Regions from separate parts of the Homo sapiens genome. Here all the other regions are linked to region 3. Evidence: promoter capture Hi-C in 16 types of primary human blood cells and fetal thymus (Javierre and others, 2016). All regions are on one chromosome and are shown on one strand. The core of a region is centred on a gene start or on the middle of the fragment in contact, and the rest is flanking DNA. Distances in the headings are between cores, read along the strand shown.

What was found. Contacts are between HindIII fragments. The CHiCAGO score rates a contact against its expected background, and 5 or more counts as called.
Region 1: a contact is called between a fragment that was not itself captured here and the fragment with the promoter of IL6ST in region 3, in 7 of 17 cell types (monocytes, M1 macrophages, naive CD4 T cells and 4 more). The highest score is 8.5, in monocytes.
Region 2: a fragment that was not itself captured here is called in contact with the fragment with the promoter of IL6ST in region 3 in 3 of 17 cell types (naive CD4 T cells, total B cells and monocytes); the score reaches 6.7 in naive CD4 T cells.

What each region holds. Positions count from the first base shown.
Region 1 is chr5:56,856,273-56,859,350 of GRCh38, forward strand. MAP3K1 (mitogen-activated protein kinase kinase kinase 1) reads left to right here. Exons shown (of 20, transcript NM_005921.2): 2 at 328-478. It also overlaps the pseudogene LOC124901214. Among named protein-coding and RNA genes, the nearest start is that of MAP3K1, 42 kb to the left of the region's middle. The HindIII fragment of the contact is 944 bases long and covers 1,255-2,198 here.
Region 2 is chr5:56,873,521-56,876,647 of GRCh38, forward strand. It overlaps MAP3K1 (mitogen-activated protein kinase kinase kinase 1), which reads left to right. Exons shown (of 20, transcript NM_005921.2): 10 at 1,512-1,790. Among named protein-coding and RNA genes, the nearest start is that of SETD9, 35 kb to the right of the region's middle. The HindIII fragment of the contact is 755 bases long and covers 1,470-2,224 here.
Region 3 is chr5:55,993,633-55,996,609 of GRCh38, forward strand. IL6ST (interleukin 6 cytokine family signal transducer) reads right to left here and starts at 1,331. Exons shown (of 17, transcript NM_002184.4): 1 at 1,152-1,331. IL6ST-DT (IL6ST divergent transcript) reads left to right here and starts at 1,535. Exons shown (of 2, transcript NR_102755.1): 1 at 1,535-1,922. RefSeq lists cis regulatory regions at 99-2,417, 1,111-1,784, a silencer at 1,062-1,541 and an enhancer at 1,373-1,884. The HindIII fragment of the contact is 8,053 bases long and covers 1-2,977 here.

The DNA.
Region 1 (3,078 bases), core at 477-2,976, 860 kb after region 3:
TGTAGTAATACACCCTTCTAAATATTTGTTATTTGGGTGGTAGAATTAAAAACAATGCAGTCTTAGTGAATATATTTGTTAATATAGTGCTTAATGTCTTGGGATTCATTTTGTTAACTACAGTGGAACATAGGTCTGCATGATATATGTCAGTAGTATATAATTCAGAATCTTTTCAAGCTTTAAGTCATTTGGGGTTTTTAGCAGTTATCTTTTTTATTACATGTCCGTTGGAAGTATAAAATAGAACCATCCATTCTGTTTGTTCTTGGAAATTATTTTTCATATATACATTTCTCATTTTATTTGTTTCTGCCTGCATTTTAGTCGTGAGATGGAGAATAAAGAAACTCTCAAAGGGTTGCACAAGATGGATGATCGTCCAGAGGAACGAATGATCAGGGAGAAACTGAAGGCAACCTGTATGCCAGCCTGGAAGCACGAATGGTTGGAAAGGAGAAATAGGCGAGGGCCTGTGGTAAGTGGCTATGGGTTACCAGTTATAAGGAAGAAAGCATAGGAGGAAATGGAAAAGTAAGCATAAATAGATCCTCTTGTAAGCTTTTCTTCTTCATTTTAAATGTAGTAGTTTTCTTTACTTGATATTGTGGTCATTTGGAAGAAACCATAATTAAAACTGTGCTCATTAAACAACTTAAACTATTCTGGGAACTTAACTGTTGTGTTTGGTGGAGGGGTAAATGCTTAAACCAAGACTGCCCTCTCATGTCAGTATCTAAAATCCTTTCATTGGAGTTTTATACTGTACTTGTAAATTTTAAAAAGAATTTTTCCAGTTTATTTTAGATGTTTTATCTCTAAGACAGGATCCAAGGATCTTAATTTCAGAAATCTTCTAGGAAAGAAAACATTTAATTGCAGTAATTCATAAGTGTAATGATTGGGTTTTCACATGCATGCATAAGATGTGCGTTTCTCCAACTTTGTTACAGTGTCAGCATGTTATCCTCATTTGACATGAAAAAATGTTTAATAGACCTATGGGGATTAAGATAAATTAAAAATGTGTGGGGTTTGATGAAAGAAAATCTAGAGTCCTAGATTTTAAAAAGCAGGGATACTCTGTCCTTTGCTATAGGTATAAGAATATATATTCTTATAAGAATACCATCATGAAATGTGTGTCTTCATTCTTACAAAGGAAGAAGTATTACAGTATCCTAGCACTAATCTCTCTCAGCAAGTTTTTATTTTGTTCTTTTAAAACAGATATGGCAACTTAAAATTCATCTAAGCTTTGACAAGGGTCTAAATACACCCCTGCCAAGTGATTGTCTGCCCTACATTCATCCCATATGCCTATTTAAGTTTACATTTAAATTAATTAGATGTAAATAAAAGTAAAAATTTAGTTCCTCAGTCTCACCAACTACATTTCAAATGCTCAGTAACCACATGTGGCCAATGGCTACCTTTTAGGCAGTGCAGTTTTAGCACATTTTCACTGCCTCAGAAAGCTCTCTTAGATGTGTAGTACTGACTCGTGTCTGACTTAAATAACTCAATAATCCCTGTGGCTTTCGATATCCTCATCACTGAGCTGCAGTCTGTCAGGAATATTTTACCCACTGGTTCTCATTCTAACCGATGGAATTATACAGAATAAATCTAATTGTTCCTTTCCATACCAGCACTTGGTAAGTTATTATGGGCCCGTGAGTCCTTGTCTTTACAGCTAAGTTTCTACATTTCTTCCATTTATTACTCACGTGAGGTGGTATGGTGGGAACCCCTCACCATTTTAGCTATTCGTGCCAGAAGGTGAATATGAAGAAATTAAGGATTTATCTTAGAGAAGAGAAAGTGCTATTGAAACATCTTGTAGAATGTTGGCAGTTAAAAGGGCATATTACTACTCAATCAATATAAAGAACTTTTGAACAAGCAGAGCCATCTGAAGTTTGAATGTGCTGCTTTCTGAGCTCCTTTAGATGGAGGTGTTCAAACAGCCTAAATCTTTTGAGAATACCGTAGGGCATAAATCACAACTTTTTAAAAATGAGCCAGCTATTTGTTCTTTATTATACATGAACTAAGAATATCCAGTTCTCTAAAACAAAATTTTGGTTTTTATACTGTTCACTTTCTAGCAAGTACCAAAGTACCTTGTCTGTATATAAGACATGAGTGAAGAGGGAGGAGATGTGTGGAATAAGATGCATAACACATAGTCCTTAAGCTTAATTATGCCACCCTACATTTTATGATTTACGGATTTCGTATTATCCTTAGGAAGTTTACTGTTTACTTGGGAGGTCTGATTTTGTTTGTTTTTATACTTTAAGTAAGTTGTGTCAAATCATTCTTGAAACATAAAGGGTAAATATCTCCAAATGGGAAAATTAGACTTATACATAATAAATAGAGTAATACATGAAATATCACAAAGCAACTTGTGACTAGGTGCCAAATGTGTGGGATGGGCAGAAGAGCAATAGGGACTTAGGAAAGAGAAGGAATGTCTTGCTGGTAGACTTCAGGGAAGTTTCATAAAAGGAAGAATTTTAACTCAGCGTAGAAAGATGGGTAAATTTTCCTCATGTGAAGGTGTACTGCCTGGGGTGCTGCAGGCTGGAGATGAGTATTAAAATAGGAGGAGAGTGAGTGAAAGCACAGGAGGAGGAAGGGTCAGGCAAGTTTGGTGAACACAGCAACTGGCTATAGAACAGGAGCAGTGGGAGAAAGTCCAGAAAGGTCTGCTGAGCTTCAGTTGTACAAAGCTGTGGAGTTTGGCCTTTGGTCATGGCTAGATTAGGTCTGAAAGCCTTAATTAAAAAAAAAAAAAAAAAAAGGCAGGTCTTGTAAACTGCATTTCTGCTTGAGAAATTGATCTTTAAACTTCTAGTCTCTTTTGGTTTTCTGAGATACACATCTAACCTATTATTGTAATATAACATTGTAAAGAAACACACACACAAAGCAGGGAAAATGATTGCATAGTGATCAAACTATTTGAAATTATGCCCAGTGTTGTTTCAAGGTCCTACATTTTGTAAAAACAAATAAAAACGTACCTAGATCTTTGATCTAGTAGTTGAATAAGTTGACTGTAGAAGT
Region 2 (3,127 bases), core at 597-3,096, 880 kb after region 3:
TCTCTTCTGATTGAATGTTTTTTCATCCTCAGTAAGTAGGGCTTTTTTGTCAGTTGGTTTGTAATGATTTTCTTGGTTGTTGAATGCTCAGTCTATTATTTTTTAAATGTAGGATCTAAAACCAGACGGGTCTCCAGTAGACAATAATAAAGTAAAATAATTATTTTCAATAATCTGTTAAATTCTGTTGAATTAAATTTGTGAACAGGTGCATTAACACATTGAGCTTATATATCATTAGGATTTGTTACATTTTTCTTTTGTGACCATTACAGTCCTGCAGCTTTGGAATTCTCTTAGCATATTAGCAACCCATTTATGAATCTAATAAAATCTGCAAAAATATTAAACACATTCTTGTACCTAGTTCATTAATGAAATTTAATGAACTATTAATGAACATAGGCCCTCACCTGCCCTTTCATGACCCATCAAAGAACTCTCAAGTTGATTCTGAGCTGTTAGAGTTCATTCTTTCAAGCATATGGTCTAGTTTGTTTTGCCTAAGCTTTAGGTCAGACTAGGCTCTACATTCCTAGCTTTTTATTAAGCATGTTAGGTAAGACAGTTAAAACATAGGTAGTGGTACACTACTTAACAGTACCAGAAGCTCACTATATTCTAGTTGGTTCATTCTCCCATAATATCCCTTTATAACAAAACATATGTAAATAAGTATGTTATGATCTGTTTTTCAAAAGTTGTGTTTATTCATCTTTAATATTTAGGCATTTTTCACATAATGAATTATCTTAGGTATTAAGCTTACTTTTAGCTAATTGGCCCATAATGTCAAGACCATTCACCCTTTCCTCACTGTAGGGACTCTGGCTTTTGGGGCATGGTATTGACGACGATAACAGCATATACTATAATTCTACGTCTACATTTATCCTTTGCTTACTCGAACACAAGCATTTTTTCTTCAGTTGTTTGATTTGTCCACTCCATTCGTTTTACAGTCCTACCTGTTTTGTCTAGTTTTTTAAACCTTTTTATACAGACAAAAACCAATTAAATGTGTTTTGCTTATTGCTCTTGTCTGTAAGAGAAATACTCTATATCTCTTGAAACCTTCTCCTGGTGCTTTTTTTGATTTGTTTTTTGTTTGTTTGTTTGTTTTCTTAATCTTGCTCCAGTTTTTCTCTTTAAACTACCTTAATATGAATACAGAGTTGAGGTTTTCACAGTTTTTTGGCGTTTTGGTAAGCATGTGGGACAGTAGAGGCATAGAATGTATGTATAGCCATCTAGTGACTTAATGGAGCTTATTATTAATTTTACCTGAGCTAATAAATATTAATGACTTTGGATAATTATCAGTTAAACTTGAGTATAAAATTCTTCCTTATGATGCTTAAGTGGCTGGATATATTTGAAGTTGTGAAGGATGGTAAAGATTTCAGAAATGTCCAGTTTTTACGTAGTAATCAAAAATGATGCTAAACTCAAAATGCTCTGGGTCCATAAGCTTTTCTTTACATTGAATTCATCGTGTGTGTTTGATACAGGTGTTTGGAATGGAACTCGTTGGCTGCTTATTTTCTAGAAACTGGAATGTGAGAGAGATGGCCCTCAGGCGTCTTTCCCATGATGTCAGTGGGGCCCTGCTGTTGGCAAATGGGGAGAGCACTGGAAATTCTGGGGGCAGCAGTGGAAGCAGCCCGAGTGGGGGAGCCACCAGTGGGTCTTCCCAGACCAGTATCTCAGGAGATGTGGTGGAGGCATGCTGCAGCGTTCTGTCAATGGTCTGTGCTGACCCTGTCTACAAAGTGTACGTTGCTGCTTTAGTAAGTAGCTTTATTCCATAATCATATCATTATGGGTTTGGGGTTTTTTGATGGTTCGTAGATAGTGTTTTTAAGATACAATAAAGCTACTTTACCTAATTTTGGAAAATCCAAATTTTATTTTTATTCCATAATTCCAGGAAATTACAGCTTTTGTTTTGTTTATTTGAATTTTACTGATTTTTATGATGTCCAAGGTTTCTTATATAACTGTTTTACTTTTTAGTTTCATTGTTTTAAAGGCTTTGCAGGGGTATCCAAGGGAGAGAATATAGTCATGGTTTCTTAGTTTCTGTTTGGGCCAGTAAAGCTCCTTCCTCATCCTCCTTTTCCACTTACCACTAGAGACAGACTAAAAACCATGGCTTCAGGCTGCTAAAGCCTAAAACAAAACAAAACAAAACAGAACAACAACAAATAGGGTGAGCTAGACAAGCTTGCTAATTTTTAAAGATTTTTTTAATGTCTTGCTGTTCATATCTGTACATTTTTCTGAGCAGATACCTTATACATGACCAAATTAAAAATGCTTTTTGGGATGGCAGAGTCATCAACGTTATTCTGATTTTTTAAAAAATTTATCAGATATTAAGGAAGATATGTTTTTAATAAACATTTTGATTGATTTTTAATAAACATTGTCATGTGGAGATTCAAAAGCCTTTTCAAAGAAAAGGGTTCCATGACATAGATCATTGAGTTGTTTTCCAGTTTAACCTGTTAAAAGTTCTTTCATGGGTGGAATAGAGTGACAAGGAGGTAATTTAGGAGACTAACTGGACTTTCTCCATTCTGCGTATATGTCTCTTTAGGGCTTCTCAGCCTCAGTACTATTAACATTTGTTAGATAATTATTTGTTGGAGGGTGGGGGGAGGGCCAGGGATGTTGTCATGTGTGTACTGTGGCAGCATCTCTGGCCTCTACCCATTAGATACCAGGAGCAAACCCACCCCCACCCGATCATGCCCCCAGTTATGACAACCAAGAATGTCTCCAGGCATTGCCAAATGTCTCCAGTGGTCAAAACTGCCCCCAATTCAGAATCACTACTTTAATTCTTATCTAGTCTGTTCTTAAAATTCATGAGCAGTCTGTAGGCTTCCTCCCTCAGTCTTTTTCTAATGCATCCTCTACCGATTGGGCCTAATGAATCTTCTTGACAGGTAATACAGCATGACAGTTACGAACATGGGTTTGGAGTCACAATTGAGTGATCTCATAATTTATCATTCCAACCACAATGCTTGCATAATGTGCTGGTTAAAGTTGGACTAGCCTAGGCAATCTGAACACATGATCAAGATCATAGAGACAGACCTGGATTCAAATTCTGGTT
Region 3 (2,977 bases), core at 81-2,580:
TCTCCTTCCTGTAATTTTTTTCTTTCACTCAAGATTAAAAACAAACGTTCAAGATTATCCCTAAAGAGAAATAGTTGGAAAGCACAATTTAATAGCAAGTTGGTTCTATAAATGTAATATTTCAGTTCATAGTTCAAAAATACTTCCAAATAGGAATTAACATGAATTTAAGAAATTAACATAATGGCACACAGCTAAACTGATGATCTGAGTCCGTAATTTCAAATTAAGAGTTGTTCCAACTTGAAGCTGGCAGTCATACACAGTTTAAAGGGTTTGTTTACAGCACTGTCAAAAGCAAATACCACAATCTTTCAGAAAATTCACCCTGGCATTCTAATAACTAGTTATTTTAAGGCAGTATAATTGTTGAAATACTTCACAAACTAAGCCAAAATGCGTTTCCTTCTGAAGGCAAAAAAAAAAAAAAAAAAAAAAGGTGACGTCTTATTTTTAACCTGTGATTTTTTTTTTTTTTCAGTTTCGGATTATGAAATAAAATGCTGTTCATCCACTGAAGAACAGACCCTTGCTTCCTGCACTATCTTCAAAAGTTTAGGTCGGAGGAGGTAAAATTTTAAAAACTGATTTGTTCTCCTTGGGATACAGTGAGATGTGGAATTCGTTAGGAATGATAATTATTAATAGAAAAGATCAAAAGAAGGAAAGAAACGTTAATAGTGTTTATAAGCATTGTGAACTTTCAACAAAGCTGAAACGTTACGATTTCAAGATGAAAAAACGGCTTTGGGGAAGGGAAATCCACCTCGAGAATGAAGACAAGTGCGGAGCGAATAGAATTTCAGGGGAGATGAAAAGGGGATTGGGAAAAACGTGGGATCTGGTAACAAAAAGGGGGGTTTGTTCTTGAAGGGCGTTCTGCGGGGCGGGCGTTAAGAGGGGTGCGTGCGTGCGCCTGGGTGAAGTTTGTACTCAGGGCTGCGATAATCGAGGTGACAAAGTTGTGGAAGTAGAATTCGGAGGTCCGGGAGCAGGAAGGGGAAGGAATGTGGGGATTTCCAGGCTGGGCTGACAAGTTCCGGGCGCTGCTCTCAGGGGGAAGGGAGGTCTCCTCGAGTGCCAGATAGCCCGTCCGAAACCACCGACACTCTAACTCCAGCTACGCGACCCAGCACCCGGCCCCTCCTCACCTCAGGCCGCGCCGCCTCGACCCTCCGCGTCTCCACAGCGCACGAACCCCTTGGCGCCAGGCTGGGCCAGACCCGTCGGCCTGGCAGGCGCGGCCCCCGGTTCAGCTGCGCCGGGGCGGCCCAGCGCGACTCCGCGGGCCTTTTGGCTGCTCGCCCCGGCTCCGGAACACTGTCAGATCCTTCTCCGCAGAGGTAGCGCGCCACCCCAGTCCCGCGGCGGGGCGGGGCGCTCCCCAATCCCGCCCAGCTGCGCCCCCGGCCGGCCAACGCTGCGCCCCGCCCCCTACCGGGACCTAGGCGCTGATTGGCCCCTGAGAGACCCTTTGCGCCCAGGCATTGGTCCAGTGGCCGCCTGTCGACGAGGGGGCGGGACTCCGAGGGGTAGCGATTCCCGTAACGCGGCTCTTCGCGTCCCGGATTCCGGTGGCTGCGTCCGCGTCGCCTCTCCCAGACTAGATCGAAGGGTTCCCCCCACCTCCCCTCTGTGGGCGGAAAGAGCGGAATGTTCCATTTTTCTGTGGAATAACGGGGTCATGAACTGGAGCCCGGGTGCTGCCCGCCGCCCGCTGCCCCCGCCCTCCCTTCTCGCCAGGGCGCCTGCGGCCTCTCTTCGCGGCCTTCCCCGAGGGACTCAGAGCCGCGAGGGACCGCCTAGCTCCCTTGGGGATGGGGAAGGCGTGGGAGCCTCTTGGGGAAAGTGAAGAGCTCGGTGGCCGTGACTCCGCACGAGACTGCGGCAGATTGTGGCGGCGGCTTCTCTCCAAGACTTACGTAAACGAGCCTTGCCACAGTACTTTTTTAAATTAGTAAATGAGTTTGGGTGCGATTGATCAGTGAGCCCCAGAGGTGGTGGCCCACCAAGCGACTAGTGTTTCTTTGCGGTTTGTACCTCCCCGTTTATGATAAAAAATACCGGGTAAAAACCTATTCATCCCGCCTCCGCCCCCCCCTTTCCCTCAGAAAATGGACCTCAAGGCTCATGATGTTTGTTTCTCCCCAAAGGAAGATGAGAATCTTGAGTTAAAAGATAAGGCATGTGCGTGCGTGCGTGTGGGGTGTGTGCGTGGGTGTCTGTAAAAGTAAACACCCAAAGGTAGAGGTTTTTGTGGAAGAATGAGAGGATATAGGAAGGAAATAATGGTTTAATGAACTTAAATTATATCCATAAATTAACAATTATAAAGTTCTTCATTATATTGAGGATTCAGATAGAGTAAAACATAGATCGAATTTTAATCTCTTAGTTGTTGATCAGATAATTTATAAAAGGGCAAAGTGGGCCTGCTAACGGAGTCGCAGGCAAAGTAGATGGTGCTGCAGCTGATGTGTTCAGCTCTTGCTCCTCCCTGTCATCCTATATCTAACCTATAGATTGTGACCAGATTCTGTTCTAGCTTTGCCATTTAGAGGGGTGTTTATTTTAAAACAAATTTTTATAAAAATTTGTTAAATTGAAAATTTTGTATAGATCCAGGAAACTTGATTTTTTTGTTGTTGTTCACAGTCTCACTCTGTCACCCAGGCTGGAGTGCAGTGGCTGGATCATGCTCACCGCACGTTCAAATTCCTGGGCTCTAGCGATCCTCCCACCTCAACCTCCCAAGTATCTCAGACTACAGGTGCCCCTACAATACCTGGCCAATTTTTAAAATTTTTGGAGAGACAAGATTTTGGTATGCTGACCCGGCTGGTCTTGAACTGCTGGCAACAAACGATCCTCCGGCCTTAGTGGCCTCCCAAAGTGCTGAGATAACAGGTGTGATGCAAAGATGTATTTAGGGGAGATGTATAGTGGTTAAATGTACCCTCTGGTTCTAGATTGCCTA